Regions from separate parts of the Homo sapiens genome. Here all the other regions are linked to region 1. Evidence: promoter capture Hi-C in 16 types of primary human blood cells and fetal thymus (Javierre and others, 2016). All regions are on one chromosome and are shown on one strand. The core of a region is centred on a gene start or on the middle of the fragment in contact, and the rest is flanking DNA. Distances in the headings are between cores, read along the strand shown. Region 1 holds the start of NXPH2 (neurexophilin 2). Region 2 has its middle 170 kb from the start of SPOPL-DT. Region 3 has its middle 130 kb from the start of SPOPL-DT. Region 4 has its middle 110 kb from the start of SPOPL-DT.

Region 1 (6,280 bases), core at 1,253-3,752:
GCTTTTAACTTGGAATTCAACATCCCTCAGCATGTTTCTTTGTAAGAATACTTAGTGTTACTAGGGCACATGTCTGAGTTTAACTTCCACTTTTAAACTTTATGTAGTTTCTCAAAAGAACAAAAATGATCTAAGAAATATGAACAAATTGAAGGAAAAAAGTGAACTATTCCAGTAATTAAACAACTTTGTTATTTATTTCAATAATGTGTTAAATCATGCCCTCCTCATTTACAAAGCCTGTGATAGCTGAATGGCAAACTACCAAAGTACCAAATGGAGACAGGACCTCACCTTCTGGCTCTATAAATGAGTCAGCTCAGCTCAGGCAGAGACACCAAGTCTAAATGAGGTAGTGCCTCTTGCAAAGCGGTTAGCCTCTCTCCTCTTCGAGCTGTACCTCTTCAGAAAGGGGTTCCTCTGTTTCTGCAAAACCCTTCCTATTATGTCCGTTTTGTTTCGAAAAGGTTGTCTGTAAATAAGATGCAGCCCTATCCAGGGACGCAAAGTTGGGCAAAATCAACCAATAGAGATCCTTCCAGTTTTTGAAATCCTCTTATTTGTGCTTTTGGGACAGAATAATTTACTAGAACTGGTAGAACAGGGCTCTAAGCCTTGGTAAAGAGGGAATTTTTGTAGGGATGAGGAGTGGAATGGGTGAGATATAGATTTGGATATGCAAATAGTGGTTTTGTTTTTGAGTCTGTTGCAAGGCAAAAGGAGAGTCTGAGATCAAGCAGAAATGGGATGCAGCTGGTGCATCCTTTACCATGGAACCCCCAGTCAGGCTTAGCAAGGGTTTAGGGAGGATGCATGCCCCTTGCTTGCCACTCTCCCCCCCTACAGGAAATGGAGTTGTACTGGAAAGATACCCTACCTGCAGGCTCAAGGACAACACACTCTCAAATTCACACTGGGATCCCAGAACACTCTGGAATAACCTCCCTCCCCATCTGCACAATCTTGGCACACTCAGTGAAAGGAATAGTAGGATTTTGCCCTAGTCAAAGCAATCCTCCTGCCTTTGAAACCTAGGACCAAGGCTGCTCTGCTTCAACCGCTAAGATTTAACAACCCTCCTTCATTTCTATTTTGGGGTGGGGGTGGTAAGCAGAGGAGAAGGAAACTTTTTTTTTTTTGTCCAAAAATTACAACTTAATCTGTGCTTTTTGTTGGGTTTATTTTTTAAAGCCTAGAAATCAATTGCAATTCTACTCCCTTGCTTCAACATGGTTTTCTTCTCTAAGAGCTTTGCGTTTCTAGATGTAAGAAGCATTCTCGCCTTGGGTATTCTGTCGGAGCAACTGCCTAAAGTCTCATCCTTGGAGAAGTGAATGTATCTCTCTGGACCTTAGGTTTCCCACCTGTTCAATAAAGGAGTGACGAATGACGCCCAAACTCTGATCTACCGTAAAAACAGTGCAGGTCTGTGAGCCCCATTGCCTTTGATTTTTCCACTCGAGTGTCCAGCACAAAGATAGTAAAAGGTTAAGGATCTCTCCAATGGCGAGTTGTTAACACGGAGGTCGAGGCTCACAGGCATCAGGTTTGCACCTTCGCCCGTCCGCAAAGATACCCCTCTCCAATATTTCTGAAGTCGGAGGCTGTGGTGGGGTATCCTGCCTTTATTCTGCTTCTCCAAAGCCCGGGCAGAAGGTCTGGGAGCAACTTTGTCTGTCTTCAGGACACCTAGCTGTCTATACCATCCCCAAACCGGAGTAAACCAGACATCACCTAGCTCCGTTTCTCACAGTTCTGCTCCTGGTCCCTCGAGGTCCCCATTACTCCCCAACCCCAGAAATCCTTCCAGCCGCACCAGGCGCACTTTGTACCCCTTACCCGCGGCTCTGCGAGCTTGGCGCTGCGGCAGAGTAGGGCACTCTCCCAGGGCGTCCTGGGCTCCAGCCTCACCTCCCCGCCCCAGCCTTTTCCGTTCGCAGCTCCCCACGCCCCGCCCCAGGACTCTGCAATCGCCTTCCCCTCCTAAACTCTCTGGGCGCTCTCCAGGCGGGCGCACTCTTTCTTGCAGCCACCCAGGGAGAACCTTTTCTTCCCCTCATCCCCAATCTCCCCAGCCAAAGCGAGAGCCAGTCAGTTGGCAGGGCGCTTGGCACAGTGGAGCCTCTCGGACCGGCCTTCTGCTGGGCGGGGGTGGGAGGAGGCACCCGGCCTCTCGGGGCTCTGGGGCACCGGCTGGCCAGGCGTGCTCAGCTCGGCCAGGCATCCGCCCGGCGGGATCGGATCTGGAGGGCAGCCTCGCACTGAACCCATCACCCAAGCGCCCGAGCCGCCGCCTCCCTCCCGCAGGCGCCCCACGCGCTCACCCCAAGCCCGGCCAAGCGGGAGAGTCCAAGGCGCGACTGAAGCCCCCCGCCGCGTGCCGGAGCTCGAGCTGCCCCGCAGGCTCTTTGCCGGCCCCCTCCGAGGAGGGGCGCGCGGGGGGCCGGGAGAGGCACCTCCGGTCCGCCCACCCTCCCCCTTCCCTGCCCGCCCACCCGGCCAGAGCTGCGCGGCACGGCGCAGCGCTCGGATTCCGGGAGGGAAGCGCCGCGCTGTGTCCCTGGCGTCCTCAGTCCTGCCCCGCGAAGTGGAGATGCGCGAGAGGCAGGCGAGGGCGCGCAGCTCGTGAAAAGCCGCGCCAGCCGGCACCATGCGCCTGCGGCCGCTGCCCCTCGTGGTGGTCCCTGGCTTGCTGCAGCTGGTGAGTGCCCGGCCCGCGCGCCGTCCCACACGCCGGGGACGCGTTTCGGCGGGAAAACCGCGCAGGCGGCTGACTTGGAGCCCAGCCTGGGCCTGCTTGGGAAGTGGGGTTGGGGGCGCGCGGAGGGCAAGGAGTTTTGGGTTGCCTTAGAGGTCGAAAGGGAAGAATTGAAGAACGGAATAGACGGGATCTACAGGCGACTCAGGGGCTTAGCACGGGTTGGGACTTGAGCGCTGGGGTAAAGTAGGCAGAAGGTGGCCGGGAAGTAGGTCCGGGAGAAGGAAGCGGTTTATTGATAAGCGGTCAAGGAGAGGAAGGAAAGTAAATTGATAGGATGAGAAGGGGCAGAAAGACCTTCCTCCTGTTCACAGTTTGAGAGGCTTGGTGGTGTTTATTTTTCACGTGGTGTTTTGCCCAGATGCACACAGACACTTCTCCCAAAGCACAGCATAGTGCATGCATCCTCGTTCTCAGAGCCAGGTAGTGGCGCCTTGCTGGGAGAAAACTTAGGCAAAATACGGATTTGGGGGACAGCTTGGATTTCTCTTCGTTTTCCGTCTGGCGCTAGGGACTGGGATGGGGCTTTCTGCCAGCTGGGGACACAAGATATAACTTTCATGCCCAGCTCCGCGCAGGAGCCCCCTCTCGGGCATCTCGAAGCTGTCTTTTCAGGGAGACCGCCCGCCTGGTCTGGGTGGCTCGGAGGCGCTGAGGAATAAGAAACGTATTAAAATGTGGTTTGGGGTTCGCGTTGTCACTCTCTTCTCTCTTCCCGCGAGGCGCCACGCTCTCCTCCTCCTGATATACGCCTATGTTCTATATGCATGGCTAATTATAGTTGAGGGAAAACCAAAGTAAGATCTTCAAGAAGAAACTTTTAAAGTAAAATTACAGAAGGGGAGTGCTTTGGCTGGGTCAGCATCTGTGATGGATTTCTTCTGGTCACTTAGCTCTTGCCTTGTTAGGGTGCTATTAAGAGGGCTTTCTCCTGATGCCATAGTTTCTTTGGTCCTCATACTTAAGACTTTGCCCAAGCACTTAGAAGATGACAGTCTCTTCTCTCTCGCTCGCTCTCTCTCTCGTTCTCTTTGTCTCTTTCTTTTCCTATTAGGGGGAAAATCAAGTAACTTTGAAAGTTTATGATATGTATGATATTGTTAAGGCAGAGGCACTTTGCAAGTTCTGAGGGTGGAAGGAACTCTAAAAGGTGGAGAGACCTCTGAGATGCCCGTGGTCCATGCTTGTTACGGTGGAGATTAGCTTCACCTGCACAGCGTTAACTCAGAAACTCTTCAATGGCATCAAGAAGAAAATGCAATGATATGCCCAAATATCCTTGAATGAGCCATCACATACTGGCTATCTACAATACTCCATGTTAAAATACATTTTACATCTTAGGCATTATGAATCCAAAATATATGCCACATTAATCTTTAGTATCCCTTGCTTTAAAATTTTTTAGTCTGGATTCTAATAAAAGGTGATCTAACAAAGCAGCATTTGTATGGTGTGTGTAAGGAAAAGCCTGGGGAAATCAGGTGTTTATGTGGGGTCTTCAGAATATCTTCACGAATCTTAGTTCATTAATTTTGCATTTAATAAATATGAACTGTGTATCTGCTCCGTAAGCAGTGTGATAGGCTCTTAAAGATGAGAAAATATATTTGGGCACGTGTCGGGGAAAAGTTCTTCTCCCAGCTACTATATTGGAAATGTTAGATATTTTTTTTTTCCACACCGCCATAGTCAGTAAGGAATAGGAAATACATCTTGAAGGGATTATATGCTCTCCTTAAGAGCTAGATTCTAATATTACAGCATGGACTGATGGATTTGCTTTTAAAAAAGCTTATGTCAAATTCTAATCCATTTTGGGATTGTGCTTGGGTTGTAATGTTTTTCTCCTGGAGCACTTTATCATGGTAAGTGAGGTAGGGAGCTGCAGCCCTGTTGATAAGCACACATTCCTTACGCTGCCATCCCTTCGGACAATAAAAGGCTGTTTACATTCTCCACATTCTTAGAGCTGTTGCCAGCCTTATAACACAAGGGGGTTAGAATGTGAAAGGAAAACAGAGTGGCTGAGCATATCTAAATTGAAATATTCCCCAATCCCAGCATATGCCCTACTCCAGTAGGTGTCAAAAAGGACAGATCATGATTTGCTCATTTGGATGGCTCATAGTTTTGTTCTACCTTTTTCAGCTGATATTGAACTTCTTTGTTAAATCCTAACAGCAAGGGGATAAAATATTTTCTAGATATGAAACTAGTCATTTACTTTTCTAGGAACCATATGTACTAAAAAAATCTGCCCTTTGCTGACATAAGGCTTTTTTTTTTTTTTTTTTTTTTTAATTTTTTGGTGAGGGAGGAGTGAAGTTACCTTATTGTCGAAATTGGATTTTACTTTTCTATCTGCACTGCCAGCCTGAAGAACATACTTATAAAAAATATTAAATATTTTAAAAGAATAATAGATTCATTTGGGCATATTGAACATTTAGTGATATGAAAATTACCTGTTTGTTTCTGAAAGCAGTCACAGGGAATTGAGCCCAAATAAGTCACTAACTATGGTTATATATAACATATATAATATACACGTATATATAATACAGTCACAATAACTAGAATTTTTTTACCTGTTTATGTGATATTTAAAACTTCTAAGAAAACAGTAAGCGGAATTGATAAATACTGCAAGTAGGCTAGGAAGAATGTATGTCTCTTACCTGTCCTTGCCCATTTTCCTGGCCTGTGTATAGTGCTTTTAACAGACAGGTTGCTATAGCTAATTAATGGGATTACTATTTGCAAGATTTAAATATCCATCTTGAACATATTCCTTTTTTAAAAATTCTTATTCAGCAACATACTCTTATAAAGAATATTAAGAGCATGTTATATCTTTTCTGCCACTAATGAAGAAAAAAATTAGCATTTGAAATGAATATTATATCAAAATGAGTGTTGCTTCATCATGATACAAGGTAAAGACTTCACCAGATGTCAACTGTTTACAGATTTGCATGATGATTTGTAACTGGTAATAAGTGTGATTTTTTGCCTTTAAGTAAAAAGAAGATTAAAAAAAGAATAAATTTTAATTTAAATGAATGATTAGCTAACGTTTAAGATAAAATTTAGGGCTGATTTAAAAAATCAGTTTCTTACACATTTTAACTTGTTTTACTGTGATACAATGCTGAGTTTACAAAATAAAATATTAGTTAAAAGCAATGTAAGTTGGCAAATTTTTAGAATCCTATAAAATCAGATCCTTGTGATGAAAGATGGTAAAATTTTAAGTTCATCTTTTTAGTACCACATAATTTATTAAGGGTACTTACATTAAAACTAATAATTTTAATATTTGTTTAGTCTGATGATTCTATTTATTTCTTCTTCTGTACTTACAAGAATTGATAACTCTTTACTATCTTCCATTCAAAAATGACAACTTTCCTCATACAGCCTTGATCAATAAACATCAAAATAGTATTTTCCAGTGCCGGATGAATAGTCCTCTGTTGGCTATATGACAATGTGAAGGAAAAAAAAAAAAAAACACCA
Region 2 (6,280 bases), core at 1,151-3,650, 440 kb after region 1:
TCTGCCTTAGAACAGGGCCAGTTCTCTTACTTCTTACTTATAAATTCACCTAATTACCATTGTGCCTAAAATAAACCCCCCTTGAGCATTTTAAAATCCATTCAATATCTCCTAAATTTTACCTTATTTTAAACTATTTACATGTTTAGAAATAAACATATCTAAAAATTTACTATTGCAAATAATTATAGGAAATAAAAAATAATCAAATTTACAGAATTTTGTGGATTGGGGGATTGTTTTGCATCCCGTGAGTATGTCTTTCTATTTTTATTCACATTCATGACTAAAAAAAACCCTCTTTTTCTTAAAGAACATTTCATTAAAATAATGTATTTCGAATCATGACTACTTATATGAAATATTTCATTAAAAATATATAATTTCCCACATGTTTGAGTCACATAATTGATTATGACATAGTCCTGACCCAAATAGTAGGCAAACTGGAATATTTATAACTCTCTATGAAGGAATAGTGTGATTTAACTCATAAATCTGGACTGTCCCTATATTATTGCATTGTATAACACAATATAATTCTTTAAATTAGAAATATTTCGAAAAATCTGAGTGTAATAAAATTGTGATCTACTTTTTCACATTTTTGACATATTAGTGTCAATTCCTCACTAAACAGAAACTAGTATTTGATTAATAAGCACTTAATATACACCAGAAATACAGAACATAGAAATTAACGTTAATTTACAAAGACTAAACACGGAGAATAGAATATAAAATATCCTTTTCCAGATTATCAGATTTGATAACTACCTTTTACTAGACTGAGAATGGGTTGTGAAAAACTAACAAGAATTCCTTAAAATTTTCAATAGTCAAGAAAATAGTGAAATATTCCCCCCTCAGGAATATATATAATGTCATCATTTATGTAATGTTACAAAATCATTTTCTATATTTGTAATAAGTATTTATGTTGGAAGTGTCTATAAAATTGATGATAAAAGCTGTGAGATAACATAAAGATGATTTTTAAAATGGCCTACAAAGTGATTGCAAAAAAAGACATTGAATTTAAGAAGAGGTATACATTGAGAAATGAGATATATTAATAGTTTTAGGTTTTCAAACATCATTTTTGGGAAAGTACACTTAGAAATGGGCTTTCTCAAATCCAGGTATTGAAAAAATGTTTTATTGAATTTTTTAATAACCAACTCAGATATCCACTGGAAGGTAAGATCATGGAGGATTGAATTTTTGTCTGTTTACTGCTAGCTTACTGCTCTTTCTCTAACATCTAGGAGAGGGCCTGAAACGTAGCAGGAGCTCAACAGACATTGAATGAATACATGAATCTACTTATAACCTTGTTGACATTTTTCTAGGCCAAACTTATTGGAGCAAAATTACAGACAGTAGAACCCTGGGATTTTGCCAATCATTTCATCTGAATCTTGAAGTTGATCCAAATAAGTGTGTAAGGAAAACTTTCATCCTATTCTTGGTTCATCTCTGAGCTGAGGCAGAATACATATTTGTGTAAGGTGAAAATTTTATGATAGAGTGCTGTCTTATAAAACCCTAGCTTTAATATCAAGGCATGAAGGCTGGTTTTTAACTAAAAACACAAGAGTAGTAGTTGAGAGACCGTATAGTAAACCATTTACTCCTTACAGCTGTCAAAGCTTAGCTGAGAGAAGCACTCTGTAATAAAGATTTGTTATTTGCTTAACTATACTTAAGCAGTACATTTTTACCTCCACGTGCTCTGAAATCTGTTACTTTAATAATTTATTCCAGCACAGAGCTAATTCCTGTAACTGTGAACCTGCTGTATCTCTCTGGTGGAATTGGACTTCGTCACGATGACATTGGTTTATATCTAGGAATATTATAGAAAATGTCCCTAAAATATTGCAATTGTGTTTTCTGTAAGCTAGTTATTGATAAATTTTTAATTACATTACATGAGGGGATTTTATTTCAGGTTTTATGTCAGGATGGGTTGCATTTGTCTAATGGACCATATACATTTTTTAATGGTTCAACTGACCATGTTTGCAATTTTATGTTTTCTAAAGCTTACATATAAACTTCTAAGCTACCTACTGGAATGTGATTATTTTGATCTCAATGTTTATTTATGTGTGTGTGTGTGTGTATTCACTTCAATTCTTGCTCAATTTTATATCTTATTCTTGTTTTGCTTTCTTTTTTCTTACATATATTTAATTTATATCTTAAAATATACATGTCCTTATAAAGCACATTAAATCAATTGTAGAACAAGGTGGAAATTATTAATCAGTCAATTATTGGCTAATAAACAACTTTAAAAATTAAAAAATTAAAAATTAAAAATTTAAGGTAATTGGCTGGGTTATCAAATGACTTTGCAGTTGGAAAGATGACTTCATCATTATGGAAAACACTAAACATCAGACAGAGGGCAGCACATCAAAGTATAAAATTCTACGGGGAGAGAACTTTGTTAACCTGGAAAATACTTTTCAATTTTGTTCATTTGTGGTTCAAATCTATTTGTATAGAAAGAGAAGGATGGAGAGAAAAGGAAGACAGTGCCAAGAGAATAAATGAATAAATAGATTGATAACACCAATATAAGAAAGAAATAAGGATCTTCAGGGGTGTTTTAGCTGCTCACTATGCATCCTCATTGCATCTTGAGAGCATTCCGATGTCCCCAGGGAATAGCTGACATCAGATTTGGGCATCCCAATGAATTCTTTCTGGGTGATAGGGAAGGGGTTGTTGGAAAAGCTTTGTCAGAGCCCCTTAATGTCTGAAACTCTCTCCTGTCCCTGATTGCGTCTCATCACACTGGACTTTAGGTTTCTAAATTCTCAGAGGTGACTCTCATGGTCATATGAGGAAGCCTATTATTCAGTCCTTAATTACCTTCCCAAATATCACCTCCCAGAACAGGGGTTAAATCTGACTGCTGCAGCCTGGGCACATTCTCTGATAATATTTTAGCCTCATATTCCATGCAGGACAGGTGAGATCGTATATCAAGGATTTAGAAAAGGCCTCAGGATAGTCTGGCTGCCTGAGTTGGCAGATGGGGCAATCCTTCAGGCCCTGAGGGAAAGCTGAGCCAGGCAGGTTGTAAATGGCCAGGGAGGTTTCTGCAGGGTTGTATTTCTTGGGGACTGAAAGGCAGATGACCTTTAGATTCCTGAGAAGGTTCCGGATATGTAGTATATTATGACTTCACTACATCAAATTCCCCCTTTCCTCCTAAGTACTCAACCAGACACTCCTCATTTACTGAACTCATAAAATCTCCACTCATGGATAGAACTAATTATTCCCTAGTTTCAGACCTAGGTTCTGCTGCCTCCACTTTATAGTATTATAGGTAGAGTTGGGACAAAATCATTATAGATGGTGCCAAGGAATGCTATTATGGACTGAGAGGTCAGGCAGAGTGTCATTTTTACTTTCTAAAACAGAAATCCATTTAACTCATACTAAAAGTCATACTTAAAAAGGTTTTGATGTATCACATAAAGCCACTGTGTTTTCTTTAAATTTTGTCTCCTTTTAGTTTTATAAATTCTCATATTTGAACCTATAATTAAGAATTAATGTTGGTTTAGTGGTCTTGGAATTCCTAGAATAGAAAACATTTTTTTGTGGTTTGTTCATTTGTTAGAGTGTTTTGTTCCTCCCAATTTTAAAGTAGGAAAGAAGGGAAAATCATTAAGAATATTACCATTTAAGCATACCATTTTGAATTTTGACTTGAGGTAGAGCCTTGTTTCCAGGTAAGAAAGATGAAGGAATGAGGAACAATAAAAGTGTAATCTGAATTATTTGGAGATCTTTAAAAAAAAAAAACACCCATTTTCTTTATTCCTTATGGTTTGGGAGGAAGAAATGAGGAACAGAATGGACATGGTGAGCAAATACTTCTTGTATCCTCCATTCTTCTGGTTAGAAAGCACTGGAATAAACATTTAACACTTTCAAGATGGGATATTTGCTAATTTACAAACACTGCTTGTGCAGAGTTTTAGCTTGTTTGCTTTCAGATCCCTTCTTGCTTTACTTAGTATCACTAGATGAGGGCTTGCAGGGAGAGCAATCCTTGCAGGCTGTGTTTTTGGGCCCTCCCTGTATCAGCTGATTACATGGGTTTAGCCAAAGGGAGTCACAGACAGAAGGTCAGAGGGAGAGTGAAGGGGAAGAGCCAGGGTCTTTCCCCCATCTGTGTGACTCAGGCAGCATCCCTCTCAGTGTCTGAGTCTCTCCATGGCTCTGGATTTCATTGATGGATCTGCTGTATTTCAAATTCTGTCAGACAACCCTGGCCTTTGGGCTCTAGTGAACAGCCTCCTCCAGGCTGCCTGCTGCTGCTCATTTGTAGGTTGCCTCACCATCCCCTGGTCATCTTTTAGCTCTTTCATCACGTGGGGGATTGATTCCCTGTATTGTTTCCTCTGGTTTAAACACTTAGTATAATTTTTATTTTTCTGTTTCAAACTGAATGATATACCATTACAGCATTTACCTTATGCCTAAAGTAAAGAAAATTGAAAAGCATAAGTAGATTTTCTCGATCAGCTAATATTTATTCAAGCACAAATTGGAGAAAGCCTACCATGACTTCCTTAAGATAGTGTATTTAATGGCTCTCCTAACAAAAACACCAAGGATCACAGCTTGATTTAGAAGTCTAATGGTATGACCAGAATTCAGTTCACTGGATTGACTTCTTGTTTATTTGTTTTGTTCCCTTTAGATTGGCAACATTCTCAGACTTTATCTCTCTTTATCATAATACAAATTTCAAAAGAATAAAGAAGGAACTCTCCTAATAGCCACTAGCCTCCTGGAGGGAGACAGTTTTGGTTGCTGGGTCAGCTCCTCTGGCTCTGCTGCCTGCAGTGATTGAGTCTCTTCCAGACCCAGGCTGCTCCACTTTGCATCTGACCTTCCAAGCCGGGCTAGGTCCTGTCCCAGTCCAGTTTCTCTATTTATTGACTTCATCAGAAAGTTGAAGGTGTTGACAGAGTTTGTAATGTGATTTGTGAAGTTCAAACGAAGCCTTCTGAAATGAAAGGACTGCATTTCCTAATGGCCACTAATGCCCGGTAATAAACACATACTCATCAGATAATGAATACTTAGTTTGTTTTGGAATAAAAGTAGAAGTTTTATTAATTACCAATTCCTAGTAGAAATCTAAGTTGCCTTTAAACCTCAGTCAGTGCAGTGTGAATTCACAAAAAGAAAGACCACAAATATGAAAGTAGAAAAACTAAGCTATAAGAATGTTGTTATTTTAAGGGGCCAGTAAATAGCACTCTTCCTCTTTGGAGTTCTGAACAAATTTATGTAAATTATAAAAGAATCAGAAAGATAGTTAATGGACTATTGTTTTTATTATTGGAAAGGCTATAGTGGTCTTTCCAGAGCAGATATAATCACTGAGGACTGTTGCTTTATATCTCTGAGTCTTCAAACAGAGAATGAGATGGACCTTCAGAACTGCCTCTAGCAAGTGAGTCTAACTCCGGACCTATGGGTGGTTGCTCCCTGAAATAGGAACAGAGAAGAATGCACTCACCCTAGTTAATCTGAATAGAGAAAGGAGAAAGGCCCCAAGTTGAACAGGCTCAACTGTTTTTCAGCTCCACCAATGAGATGTCAACCATCCTTTCAAGAGTGGGTAGAAATTATGAAGTGATAGAGGTTTTTATTTTCCAGACTCAGGCTGGAATACTGGAGTGAAAATGAAAGGGTCTTTCTGCAAGCACCTATAGGATATGTGTAATATTTTTATCTGTGAATTTCTTACCATTGGATAAAGTCTCAATAAATGTGTTACATTAAAATGTGAAACACAAAGCAAATGATTCAAAAAAATCAGCATCGTGATTTTCACTTAAGTAGGAATCCAATACCAAATCCCTACTGGACTTAGCACAAAAAATGACTGTGGCTAATACACCAGACTATAAGTATTATTGTCTGCTGAGAATCACAAACAAAATTTTTGAGCCTTTTTCTAGAAACATGATATATCAGTCAAAAGAAATTATTTTGACATTAAATGTTACTGTTCTCCCAGAGGGAGTTTAATGTGATTTTATACAACTAATGAAAGCAAAATCTACATTCATGAAAAGAGGGACAAGGCTTTTGGTTGGGTTAGTCTCAAAAAAGCCAGAGAGAAAAAAATTCCTTAGAGTCATGCTTTCTTTCACTTAGACAATGAGAAGAGATTAAGGCAGTACCCTTCCAAATAAGACATGTTTACCTTTTCACAGAGATTTCTGAAAAA
Region 3 (6,280 bases), core at 1,546-4,045, 410 kb after region 1:
TAATAAAAAAATTTATTTTTGATATTTGAACTATTTTCATATATAGTGCAACTTACCCAATACAGTGAGCAAAAGCAGATAACTGGCCTCACAATTTTCAGAAAGAGAATAGTTTATCTTGGGTGGTACTTCATATTATAGAAGGCCAACAGGAAGAAAGGAGAAGTAAATATTAAAAATAGTTTTGTTACTTGTGGGTGCCCTGGGTAGTCTCTGTTAGGCAATGTTAGTTCAGTACATAGTCAGCTCAGATTTGGCCCACTCTTCTCCTATTGTCAGCTTGTGGAACCAAGTGCTGCAAATATCTGGGCATATGCAATGAGCATTAGTTTACTTTTAGTCATATAAAGAAGAAGACTGAGCCAAGGAAGAAAAAAAAGGAGGAGCAATCAGCTCCTGTATGCACTCAGGCTACAAAAATGATATGATAGGAAATACCCAAAATATAAGAATGGGAATTAAAAAGGGTACCCAGGTATGCAGGTGATATAAAATACATTCAAGAGTCTAAGGCAGACCATCTGAACAAACTGTGATGACCATATGGACAAAGGCACAGACTCTGAAGTGTGATTTCCTCCATTCCAATCCACATTCCACTTATCTAGCATTGTGACCTAGGCAAGTTACAAAATCCTCTGTGCCTCTTTTTCCTGATGCATTAAGTAGAAATAATTGTCATGCCTATCTTACAAATACTTATTGAGGATTAAATGAGTTAATACAGATTCAGTGCTTAGAGCAGTGCCTGGGAAATAGTAAGTGTTTAATAAATATTAACTATTAAAAAGCATTGGTAAATACAATTGCAGTTCAATAGTAAGCTTCTCTCCAGGCTAGAGCGTAGGCAGGAGGAATGAAGAGCACTTAGCTGGAATCAGCAGTGAGTTAGTGAGGATCAAGGAATGTTCTCCTAAATCCGACCTGAATTTGGAGACAAAAAGATGTGGCATAGTATATACCCTGGAGGAAAACTCACTGAACCTAACATGGAAAAAAATCCCAGATATAATTCTCACCTTTTTCCTGCTTTTTCTTTCTATTTAAAAAATTTCTATTAAAAAATTCTGCTCCACTATAGTGACAGACAAATTCTTAACCTCTTTGTTTTCTCATCCATAAAACAGACACCATAACTCTGTGTGTGTATGAGAGCACTTTGTAAAGTTATAGAAAGTTTGCACTATTCAGTGCCCTTTCAGCTGCAAGTGAAGGAAGTTCAACTCAAATATCTAAAAAGGCAAGTGGAATTAATTGGCTGATAAAACTGGACAGGATACTGGGTATTTTATAGGATTGAAGGACAAGCTGTAGAAACGTGCTTATAAAAGGCTGGAACTAGGTATTCAAAATGACCTGGATGCTTTTTTCCTCTTTTCTAAGACTACTCCAGGGAGTATTGTTCATATGGTATTCAAGGGGAAAAAGCATGCCAAGGGTGCAAGGTAGAGAAGGTTAATGGTGTCTTTGGAAATGTCACATGTTCTGAGGCTTGCTTGACTTTGCTTCTCTTTGTACCTTAGTCTCTTCTACACCAGATAGCTTTCCTCTCAAAACCTTAATATGGCCACAAAGAGCTTCAGCTTGTATCCTTCTAACACCATAACATAAAGAAAATAGAATCTTTCTTTTAGCTCGAGTCGAAATTTCCCAAGGACTCCGATTGGCCTGACCTGGGTCCTGTGCCTATTCCTGAACCACTGCAGACTGCAGGAAGGGGCCCTCTGATCTTGGGTCATGTTCTTGCTGCTCCTGTGATTGTGTATATGGTGGCTGGTGGGAGGGGATACTTGACTGAAAGCCCCTTGAATCATGGGGAGTAGAAAAGAGGTTCTATTATTCAAAGAAAGGAAATATGAACGACAAGCTAGCGCTATCATGGTCCGCCACAAATGAAAGCATTATTATTTCCTAATGCTTGAGATTATTCACTACCCTTCCACCTTGCATTACTGTGAAGAGTGTATTGTGCAGTAGCTGTACTTATATGACATTGTGATATGTAATAAGCCTAGATTTTCCTATTGGAAAAACAAACTTCTTGCTGAATTAGCATACTTCACCTCGGCTGTGCAATTATTCTTCACCATTACCCTTTTGGAGCACTCTAACACCATCACAAATGAGATATTACTTTTCCATAAGCTACTTTCATGTGGGCATGCTTTTTAAAAGTCCTGAAAAGGGGTGGTAACTATCTCCATTACTAAAAGACTAGAAATTCAAAGGGCATTCATTTGCTCAGTATGTCTCTCGAGTGTTTTCACAAATACCAAGAAGTCAGCCGGGTTCAGGAAAGAAAACGTGCATTTATCAGATGTACTTGCTGAGGCACATAAACAAATAGTACTGGGACTATGGAAATGATATGTGAATATGTTTCTGGAAATTTAAACAGAAGAATTACTCAGAGAGCAAAAGAAGGTGTCTGGGAAGTGATAACCCTTTGAGGGCCCACTAGAAAGATTAGAGATATATTTAAGTGAATAATAACTTATATAAAAAGTGAAGGTGAACTGGTAGTCAATTCAAGTTTAAAATCACAATAAAGAGCACCTTCTCTTTTCCTCAAAATTTCTTTACTCATCATTTCTAAGTTTCTATTTTGTATTTTCCTCTTTTTTCTTAATAACATATTTCTCAGAATTTGTCTATTTTAAAGACCGTTCTTTCAACTCTATACACAATCTTATTGATATAATTTTAGCCTTTTATTTTCTCTTATGTGTTGCTATTATTATCTCCAGTTTATAGATAATAAAACAGAGGTGTAGAGATGTTAAATAACTTGACCAAACTTGTGAAGCTGGTTAGTGGCAGAGCCAGCATATGGACCAAGACAGGCTGACTCCAGAGCACATGCTCCAAACCATCCCATCTTGCTGTATTTTCACTAAATTCAAGGTAAATGTTTGGGATCTGGTGTGTGGTCAAATTCTTATCTCGCAGGAGACTTTTTGTGTGATCAGATACATTGTATTCATCCATTTATTAAATATAACAAGATTATAATTTTCTTGAACATGGTCCTGAATACATGGATAATCTGAGGGCTAGAACTATATATCTCTTCCTCTTACTAGCTGTGTGAATATGGGTAGACTTCTCAGATTTCTTCACTTGTAACAAAGGGAACATACTAACTTCTTGACGCATCTCAGAAATTATTGGGAGAAAAAGAGATGGGAAGTGTGAATTGAGGAAGCATTAAGAAAATTGACACTGTGAAAATGAAACAAATTGAAACCAATACCAGCTCCTCACAATCTCTTGTCATCTCTTTTCCTGGTTTTATCCTGTCTAATTTAGATCATAAACTCTCCAGCCTGAAACCATTACCCCTTTATGCAGAGTACCAAGACTGGTGTCATTATTTAATAAAAGCACAAGAAGCAGCAGCAGCAGCAAAGGTTTGAAGTTAAATCCACAGACCTGAAGTGGAAGTTATATTGAGTTCCAACTTTATAGCAAAGTTATAGATAAGGGACTGTTAAAGGTAAGGGAATGGATCTATTTTCTTTATTTTCCTAAAACTAGTGTAAATGTAGCAATTTAGAGAGTGCAATCGAGTGTCAGATTTCTTGTACAACATTTCTGACTCAGCTTCTTAACAATTGTATAATGTTTTGAATACACCGGATTGCACAGATTCCAAGGAACACAATATTTTACATTTTCATATCTCATACAGTCAGTGGTGATTTATGGTCACTGTTGCACATGTGATAGTGGAAATGTAGTTGGCTTTGCCTGATCACACACATGCACTTGGTCATCACTGGTCAGGGTTATCTCACCTGAGTTATGAGCATTTGCATTACTGCACATGCTGAATTAGTTTGCCATTTAAATTGGCTTCAGATAAATTCAACAATATACTTGGGTTTAAGACAAAAAGTTAATGTATATGCAAAAACAGAGGAGTGGTGTTTAGATTTGATATTCGCGAAGCAAATATTCATCATTAGAAAAATGATCATTATGCCAGATTGTCTTGCAAAGAAAAAAACAAGTGTTTTATGACATCCAAGAAAGAAACATACCCACAAGTAGCTGAAATTGGGTTACATGTTTTTTACTGAGGCGCAGCAGAAGGATTGCTTATCACAACAAGCCATAGAACCAAAGGCAGGAGAAATTGCAACTCCCTTGAGATAGATGAGAAAAATTGCAAAGCAAGGAGAGACTGCTTTGATACAAGAACTCTTTCAACACGTGTAGAAGAAAACTTTGAAGTGACAAGAAAAGATTACATAATAGTTTATGGCATTTTCCCCCTTTTTTCATTTGTGTATTTAAAAAAATTATAATGCACTGATGACCTCCTAGAGATGATGAAATATGGAATCAACTTCTTACATTGTGTGAGGATTAAATGAAATAATATAGGCAAAGAGCTACTGCTGTGCTTGACATATAGTAAGCGTGTAATGCATGCTAGTCATTATTATGATCATCATTAAATAACAAAGGTCTTTCACTTTCATATCTGCTCTCTAAGGGATTAATGGGGGTTGGAAACAGCTCAAGTGGGATATACTTTATTTGAAAATAATATGTAGTTTGTGTTCTCGGGGAGAGCAGGGGAAAGTCTAATAGGCAATATTAGGAAACATGCCAAGTGTTTCTTAAGTCAAAGGGAAGAATGAAGTTGAAGACTTTTCCCAGCATGCTCAACATAGAATGACTTTTTCTGTCTTTGACTGGAAGTTACTCTTTTGCTACCTTAAGAAATTGCTACCCAACAACACGATAGACAAAGCTTCAGCTGCATTTCCTTAGCCAAAAATTGGAGACATCTCTACCTTGGCCTTTTATTCAAAAAGTGTAGTGTTAATTTCAGTGTACCACTTCACAAAAAGATGTTCATAGTTTTAGAATTTGTGATTTTCACAGCTTATTTGGAGCCATAAGCATATTGTAAGGACTTTATTGAAAAGTTCTCAAGTAAACAAGTGTGTGCCTGAGCTCACTGAATTTACACAGTGTTCAAATACACTGAATTTAACCTCAGAATTTTAATTTTCATCTAACTCAAGCTGTTGCATTCCTGAAAACATAGAAGATTTTATAAAGTCACGAGTGATGCTGATTGGGCTGTGAATTTTTTTCAGGATTAGTTCCCTGGTTAGAAAAACAGACTTTTGAGATAGTTTTCCAAAGTGTCTCTTAGATTGTGTTCAAGCAGCTCTATTAAAAAGTTAATTATTATTTTTTAAAACAAATTAATATTGAAGTATGAAAGACTTATTTGAATATATTTGACTTTTATTAATCAAGGTAACTACAGAAAATAAATTAAGCACATAACACCACTCCCCTTCACACACATACATTTTAAAATAACTGTTTGTGAAAGGCAAGCAAAGACTATGTGTACCTGACCTTTACCACTTTTATTATTTCAAAAGCACAAAGATAACAACACATGTTATTTGAGGTTTTGTGAGTGAAAAACCTCTCTTAAGAGAAAGGAATTATAAACATTTTAGTGCCAAAATAATTCTGGGTTTATTCTTCAGCCAAATTATTTTATTTTGCTTTTGTAATATAATTTTTATTGCTACACTCAAATTTTTTTGGCCTTGAAAACTATTAAACTATGTAGAAATACCTTGGCTAGTAGATATCATAATAACTGACTCATGAGACAATTGCTCTAGTAATCAAGCTAACAGTCATGATACAGCAATGAAGTATAATGTGTGTGTGTCACAGAATGTTAATGTGGTATGTTCACTTATTAATTTTTTTTTTTTTTTTAGAGACAGGGTCTCACTCTGTCTCCTAGGCTGTAGTGCGGTGGTACAGTCATGGCTCACTGCAACGCGGTCCTCTTGCCTCAGACTCCAAAGTAGCTGGGACCACAAGCACTTGCTACTGCAGGCAGCTAATTTTTGTATTTTTTGTGGAGAGGGGGTCTTTCTATGTTGCCCAGGCTGGTCTCAAACTCTTGGGCTAAAGCAATCCTCTGGCCTCAGACTCCCAAACTGCTGGGATTATAGGTGTAAGCCACCACGTCCAGCCTCACTTATTGATATTCTTAACAAGGTTATTCTTAGCAAAAAGGGGAGGGGAGCAAAATGCTGCTCAGGGACTTACTTGTTGGCTTAAATTTGTCCTCCAGTGTCCAAGTTAAGGAATGCCCTTTTTTGTATAAGCCACTCAAAAAAATCATCACTACTTGCCTTCAGCTTGTTTTTCCTGTAGGGGAGAGGCAATTTTTTTCTTTACCCATCACAGGTTCATGACTGAGGCCCCTATAATAAAGACAAATTAA
Region 4 (6,280 bases), core at 1,446-3,945, 390 kb after region 1:
TGACAACCAGGTACCAGACAGAATAAAAGATATCTGGGAATCTATGTGGACAATGAACATCTAGAATTGAATCAGTCAAGGTCACAGCAGGAAAGCTGGTGCCCTCATAGTTGGATAATTTGAGGAGAAATTATTTACAAAGGGGACTGATTATAAGGTGTAGGCAAGAGTGTAGAGTTGAGGAACCTGGGGCTTGTAGCAGCAGAGCTGTTGCCACTGCTAGGCCTGAAATGAGGAGAGGAGGGTGTGATTCTGGAAATTAGAAAGAAAAGAATCAGGTAGAGAAGGCTGAATCTATCTGGGAGCCACAGGGAAGGGAACCTCATGGATGTGATCTATTTAGTTCACGCCCCAGGGCAGGGACTGGTGTGGAGGGATCTAGTATGGACCTGGAGTAGAAAAATGGAAGATTTTGAAGAGCCTCACTCAAACTTTTTGGCACTGTACAAGCCTCTACAACTTTGGCATAATCCTGGAGAAAGAGAGGGGTGTGGGAACAAACTGGTTAACATTGAGTTTCTACCACTACAGCAGCATGGGAACTCGAAATAGAAATTAAGCTGAGTCGTAGAAAAAGACATATGTTACGGTTCTTGCAAAACATAAGTTTTGGGCTGAGAATTGCACCCACCTCATATAATAAGATGGATCCATTATATTATGTGGATTACAACAAGAGTCCATATGTCCAGTCTTATATATAACATTTACATGTGTGCACACACACCCCATTCTGACAACGAATTCATGAGTTTCATCTCCACCAAATACAATATAAATGACATTTCCATCAGCATACAAAATAGAGGGAAAAGTGCTGGCAGAGAGGAAGAATGAGATGAGTAAGAAATCAGTAGGAGTGCGTAAGTCAGAAATGCCAAGCAGGGAATGAGGAAATGGGATTTGAAGTGGCAGGGGCCACTGGTATTATGAGCTGGAGACTTCTGAATGACATTGTAACTTTGCAGTCAGCAGCAGAGCAGCTCTTCATCCTTTTCTAGGATGAGGCCAGGAGAGACAGCAGCAGGCAGCTACCTAAGGAGAAGCCAAGAGAAAGGATCTGAAGTCCCTGTGAGATACAGAGAGAAGACTGATTTTCTGATTTCCTGTTCTTACTTCTAGTACACCTGTAGCCAGGCTATGCCTTCCTTACAGTCATCTCTTTTCATCTAGTTTTCATGGTGCTCAGTTCTGTGTGTGTCTATTATAATTTTTGACATGATTTTCTATAGCTTATTTAAATTTCTGAACCTCTATCCCTATTCTTCATGACTCAGAAAATAAAATTTAAAGATTCAGTCTAATTTAGTCAGTCATTTCATGTTGGAAACTGTCATAATCAGGATTGTTGGACTCCTTCGTCTTGGGTTGTGTTGCTGAAGGCCTTAAGCAACGATCACTGGTAGCATTAGTAAAGAGGGAATATTCCTCATTAGTACACTGTTTCACACTATTCTTGCATCCTTTAAGTTATAACTCATACTATCTGGTCTTAACATAGTCCTCATTGACACTGGTCATCTGTTGAGATTTAACCAACAGATTAACCTTCCATGTAACCTTCCATGGGACATTCCACACTCTCTGTTGCAGATTCCCTCATCCCAACCATGAGCTTTTTCCCTCTTTATCCTTCCAGCTTCAAATATATACTTACTCTTGAAAAGTATAAAGACTCTAAATTGCAGTATATGCTACTGGATAAATATTTAATAGCCCCTTGGAGTGATTTCTGAAGATTAATATTATACACCATGGGAAAAAAGAGTATCTGTCTGAGTGTGTGTTTGTGTGTGTATTTTTCTTTCCAACTAAAGGCCATTTTCAACCAACATAATTTTTTAGTCAATGTGATCCAGGTTTAAATCCCATTTTTAGCTACTTGTTGACTGTGTGGTATTGGGCAGTTTAGTTAAGATTACTAAATGGGTTTCTATAATTGCAAAATTAGGAGAAGAATGTTTACATCATGAAGTTTGAGGGGCTAAAGGGACTTGGAACACTATAGATGCTAGGCAACTGTTACCTATTTCTGTCTCATTCCATTTCATTAATGATGCAAGTTTGATGTGGGCAAAGTAAAAGAAAAAAATCAGACCGTAAATTAAAATGTAGAATTCTTTTAAAGTTATTCTGTGTTCTTTGTACATCTTCCTTTATTGTCTTGAAAACCACTTGAACCCAATAGGTATGTGAGATAATTTGGGTGAGGGTCGCAGCAAGGATCTTTAATCAGAGATCTGCTTCCAAAAGCTGATCAGGTATAATGGATCATATCTTTGATAAATTTTGATGCCTTATAAAATTAAGCTTTATTATGTGCTAAAGCTTTATGCATCATAAAGGAGATGTGGAACAATGAGAAAGAGAAAGATTATTCAGTAAATCTTATTTGGGCAATTGTTTAGCTACTTGGGGAAAAATTCAATTTGTATTTTTATTTAACAGCATAAGCCAAAAAATATTATATTAGGATTAAAAAGGTAAATGTAGAATATCAAACCTAATTAGACCCGGTGGAAATAAGAAGTGATTATTTTCTAATTCCTGGATCAGGGTGGAAGAATTCATAAAAGAAAATAATAATAGATTCAACTATAGAAAAATATGAAAATTCTCAATATCTTGGGTATTATGAACAGAACTTAAAGGTAGAAAAACTAAAAGTTAATTAACTACATATATGCCAAATTATTATCTTAACATTTAAAGCAGTTACATATATTGATATGACTCCATAATGTTAATGGGCAAAAGACATGAACAGATAATTTATTATAAAAGCATACAATGTTATTTAGAGCTTGAAAAGATAAAAGGCGAAGTGACATAAGATATTCACCTATTGAATTAGAAAATATGAAAATAGCCCAATGTTGCTAAGGCTCAGGCTTCACGCACAGCTCATGTAATATTGGTGAGAGTTTAAAGTAGATGGCATTTTGAAAGGCAATTTTGCAATACGTAGGAAAACTCTTAAAAATGCTTATATTGATAAACTTAGAAATCCAATCTCAGGTCATCTATGATAGCAAAATATTATAAAATTTATAAAAGCTTCATTATAACAATAGCCTTAATTCATTGTTTGTCTAGCACATGGCACATTTTACTTACCTTACTTTCACTTCTCAACAAAACTTCTAAATGGCTGAGTGAGGATTTGAATCTGTCTGTTTCAGATTCTGCGTGGGCTCTTTATTACAATTTTATTTTACCCAAGATATCTTTCATAATGTAATAGTGAAAATTGGCCAGGTGCGGTGGTTCACGCCTGTAATCCCAGCACATTGGGAGGTCGAGGCAGGTGAATCACCCGAGATCAGGAGTTCAAGACCAGCCTGGCCAACATGATGAAACCCCATCTGTACTAAAATACAAAAATTAGCTGGGTGTGGTCGTGCATGCCTGTAATCTCAGCTACTCAGGAGGCTGAGGCAGGAGAATCGCTTAAACCCAGAAGGTGGAAGTTGCAGTTCACCGAGATGGCGCCATTGCACTCCAACCTGGGTGACAAGAGCGAAACCCTGTCTCAAAAAAAAGAAAAAAAAAAAGTGAAAATTTAGAAATACTTTTAAAGTCTGTTAATAATGTAATAGTGAAATAAACTATAGTTGATGCTTTTCATATAATACCATGCAGCCAGAGATGGTATGGAAAATGCTTACTCTTAAATCATTTTAAATAAAAATAGTGAAAACAAATTAGAATATTTCTATAATTTTAACCATTTAAAGGAAGTGAATACAAAGAATGAGAAGAAATATAGATTAATAGTAGCTGCCTCTGATTTGTGGGACTATGATAATCATCCTTTTTGGTCTCTATACTTTTTGGGGCTTTTTACATTTTTCTAACAAGAATGAATTGACTTACGTTCAGATAAAAGTAAATTTGAACTTAAAAATTTGTGGAGCTTTTTATCTTCTCAGAGCATAGTGGAAATATATTATCTTTATTTAGTTAAGTCTTAGTAACATAGTCTGCTCACCAAAAGAAAAATGCTCTGAAGATTGACAGATGAGGCAATTGTTCTGAGATTAGTTTATTATTAAAATGTGTAATTAGACAAATCCATAGGGGCCATATGAACAAACAAGAGTATTTCTATCAACATTATAGAACGAAAACATTTCATTTATCTCTTGAAAATATAAGTCAGAGAATAAGAACCAACTTACAAATCCAATAAAGAAAATTAAATTTCCAACACGATTGGAGGATAATTTGTGTTACTAATGACTTGCCCTGTGAATATATATGATGTCTAGGAAACAAAATATCTCAAAAATTGTTCAAAAACGTATTTCTTAGGTGGGAAAATAAGGAAATATTTTAGGTGCTATCAATAAACTCACTCAACCTGATTTTTTTTTTAAATACAACTCTGCAGAAGAAAGTGTCATCTTTTTGAGCCCCATCTAGCCTTAGAAAAATATGCTTTATTATAACACATATAGGACAAAAGCAGTGATTTTTATATTTATTCTTATTTTCATGGTACAATCCTCTTACTTCCATAATTAACATTGTAATGATTTGATTATGATCAGTTTGTGGGATTATTAACCACTCTTGGTTTCTTCTCACCTCATTAACTAGCAAACTAGGCACTGACTGCTTAATAACCAGTTTCTCATGGACTGTTGCTCAGTATTACCAAATCTTTTTAGTTTTATGAAGCCATTTTCATTAGAGAGTGAATAGTTTCTCTATTTTTTCTTTTTTTAGCACATGTCAAAGTCACATTAAATATGCTTTTATTACCTAACTATGAATTATTTTTTTCTTAGAGGCAGCAGCATCTATTAAATGTTTCAATTAGTGTTGGGTTAAAAATTGATTTTTAGGTTAATTTCCTAAATATGTGGAACTAGTTTAGTTAAAATGACACTGCTCAATTCACCTGGTATCTTACTGACAACAGTATGAGAAAAAATGAGTTTAAAATAATAAACAATTATGGTAGCTTGACTCTTATTGTTGAGGGACTGTAACAATGAACTTGATTCACAAGTTGGTAAAGTTGTGATTAGGGAAACAGACCAAATTTAGCCCATTTGACATATACTTGTTCTTAGGTGCTTGATAAATATTTCTGATTTGAGTGAACTGGAGTCTACCAGCATTGCCTTTTTCTCCTTTAAAAAAATATGAATGTAATTGATGCTTATTTCCTGTGAATCCCCAAATTATTTCCTTTTTCTCACTTTTCTAGTGGATCAGTTTTTCCTTTTCATTTGTGGAATGTTTCCATATAATGCAGCTATTATTTTTTAAAATTTTTATTTAAGATGATTTATCTGTTGCTTTATGTAATTTTTAATTGACAAATATTGTATATATTTAATATGTACAACATATTGTTTTGAAATATATACATACACACATTGTAGAATGGTTAAATTAAGCTAATTAATGCATGCATTACTTCACATATTTTGTGGTGAGAACACTTAAAAATCTACTCTTTGCCATAAAATACATTCTTATTAACTGTAGAGGCCAGTTTGTATAATATATCTCCTGAACTAATTCCTCCTATCTAATAAAATTTTGATCCTCTGGCTAACATCTCCCCATCTCCCTACCTCCCCACCTTCACCCCCTGGTAACCACTATTTTACTCTTTATTCTATGAGCTTGACTTTCTAAGATGCCACATATAAGTGAGATCACGCAGTATTTGTCTTTCTTTTCCTGGGTTATTTCACTTAGCATAATTTCCTCCAGGTTTATCCACCTGGCTGCAAATGACATGATCTCATTCCTTCTTATGGCTGAATGGTATTCCATTGTGTGTGTGTGTGTGTGTGTGTGTGTGTGTGTGTGTGTGTGTGTGTGTATATAGTATATATATAGTGTATATACATATAGTATATATAGTGTATATATAGTATATACAGTGTATATGTAGTATATAGTATATATAGTATATATAGTGTATATATAGTATATAGTATATATAGTATATAGTATATATAGTGTATATATAGTATATAGTATATATAGTGTATATATAGTATATAGTACATATAGTGTATATATAGTATATGTAGTGTATATATAGTATATAGTATATATAGTGTATAGTATATATAGCATATATAATATAGTATATATATATTTACTATATATATACTATATATACACTATTGTAGCATTAGTCACAATAGCCAAGAAATGGAACCAAGCTCTGCACTAGGAAAAAAAAAAATCTACCTAAGTGTCCATCAGTGGATAAATGGGTAAAGGAAAAGGAAATGTGTGTGTGTGTATA

Evidence for each region. The method cuts DNA at HindIII sites, captures the fragments that hold promoters and counts their contacts. A CHiCAGO score of 5 or more calls a contact.
Region 2: a contact is called between a fragment that was not itself captured here and the fragment with the promoter of NXPH2 in region 1, in 1 of 17 cell types (total CD4 T cells). The highest score is 5.2, in total CD4 T cells.
Region 3: a contact is called between a fragment that was not itself captured here and the fragment with the promoter of NXPH2 in region 1, in 3 of 17 cell types (M2 macrophages, megakaryocytes and monocytes). The highest score is 5.9, in M2 macrophages.
Region 4: a contact is called between a fragment that was not itself captured here and the fragment with the promoter of NXPH2 in region 1, in 1 of 17 cell types (M2 macrophages). The highest score is 5.0, in M2 macrophages.

Annotation. Positions count from the first base shown.
Region 1 is chr2:138,776,612-138,782,891 of GRCh38, reverse strand. It overlaps NXPH2 (neurexophilin 2), which reads left to right and starts at 2,502. Exons shown (of 2, transcript NM_007226.3): 1 at 2,502-2,701. The coding sequence starts at 2,651. The HindIII fragment of the contact is 12,898 bases long and covers 1-4,554 here.
Region 2 is chr2:138,333,148-138,339,427 of GRCh38, reverse strand. No RefSeq gene overlaps it. Among named protein-coding and RNA genes, the nearest start is that of SPOPL-DT, 170 kb to the left of the region's middle. RefSeq lists an enhancer at 5,413-5,512. The HindIII fragment of the contact is 700 bases long and covers 2,051-2,750 here.
Region 3 is chr2:138,364,079-138,370,358 of GRCh38, reverse strand. No RefSeq gene overlaps it. Among named protein-coding and RNA genes, the nearest start is that of SPOPL-DT, 130 kb to the left of the region's middle. RefSeq lists a silencer at 3,606-3,900. The HindIII fragment of the contact is 3,938 bases long and covers 827-4,764 here.
Region 4 is chr2:138,383,557-138,389,836 of GRCh38, reverse strand. No RefSeq gene overlaps it. Among named protein-coding and RNA genes, the nearest start is that of SPOPL-DT, 110 kb to the left of the region's middle. The HindIII fragment of the contact is 729 bases long and covers 2,331-3,059 here.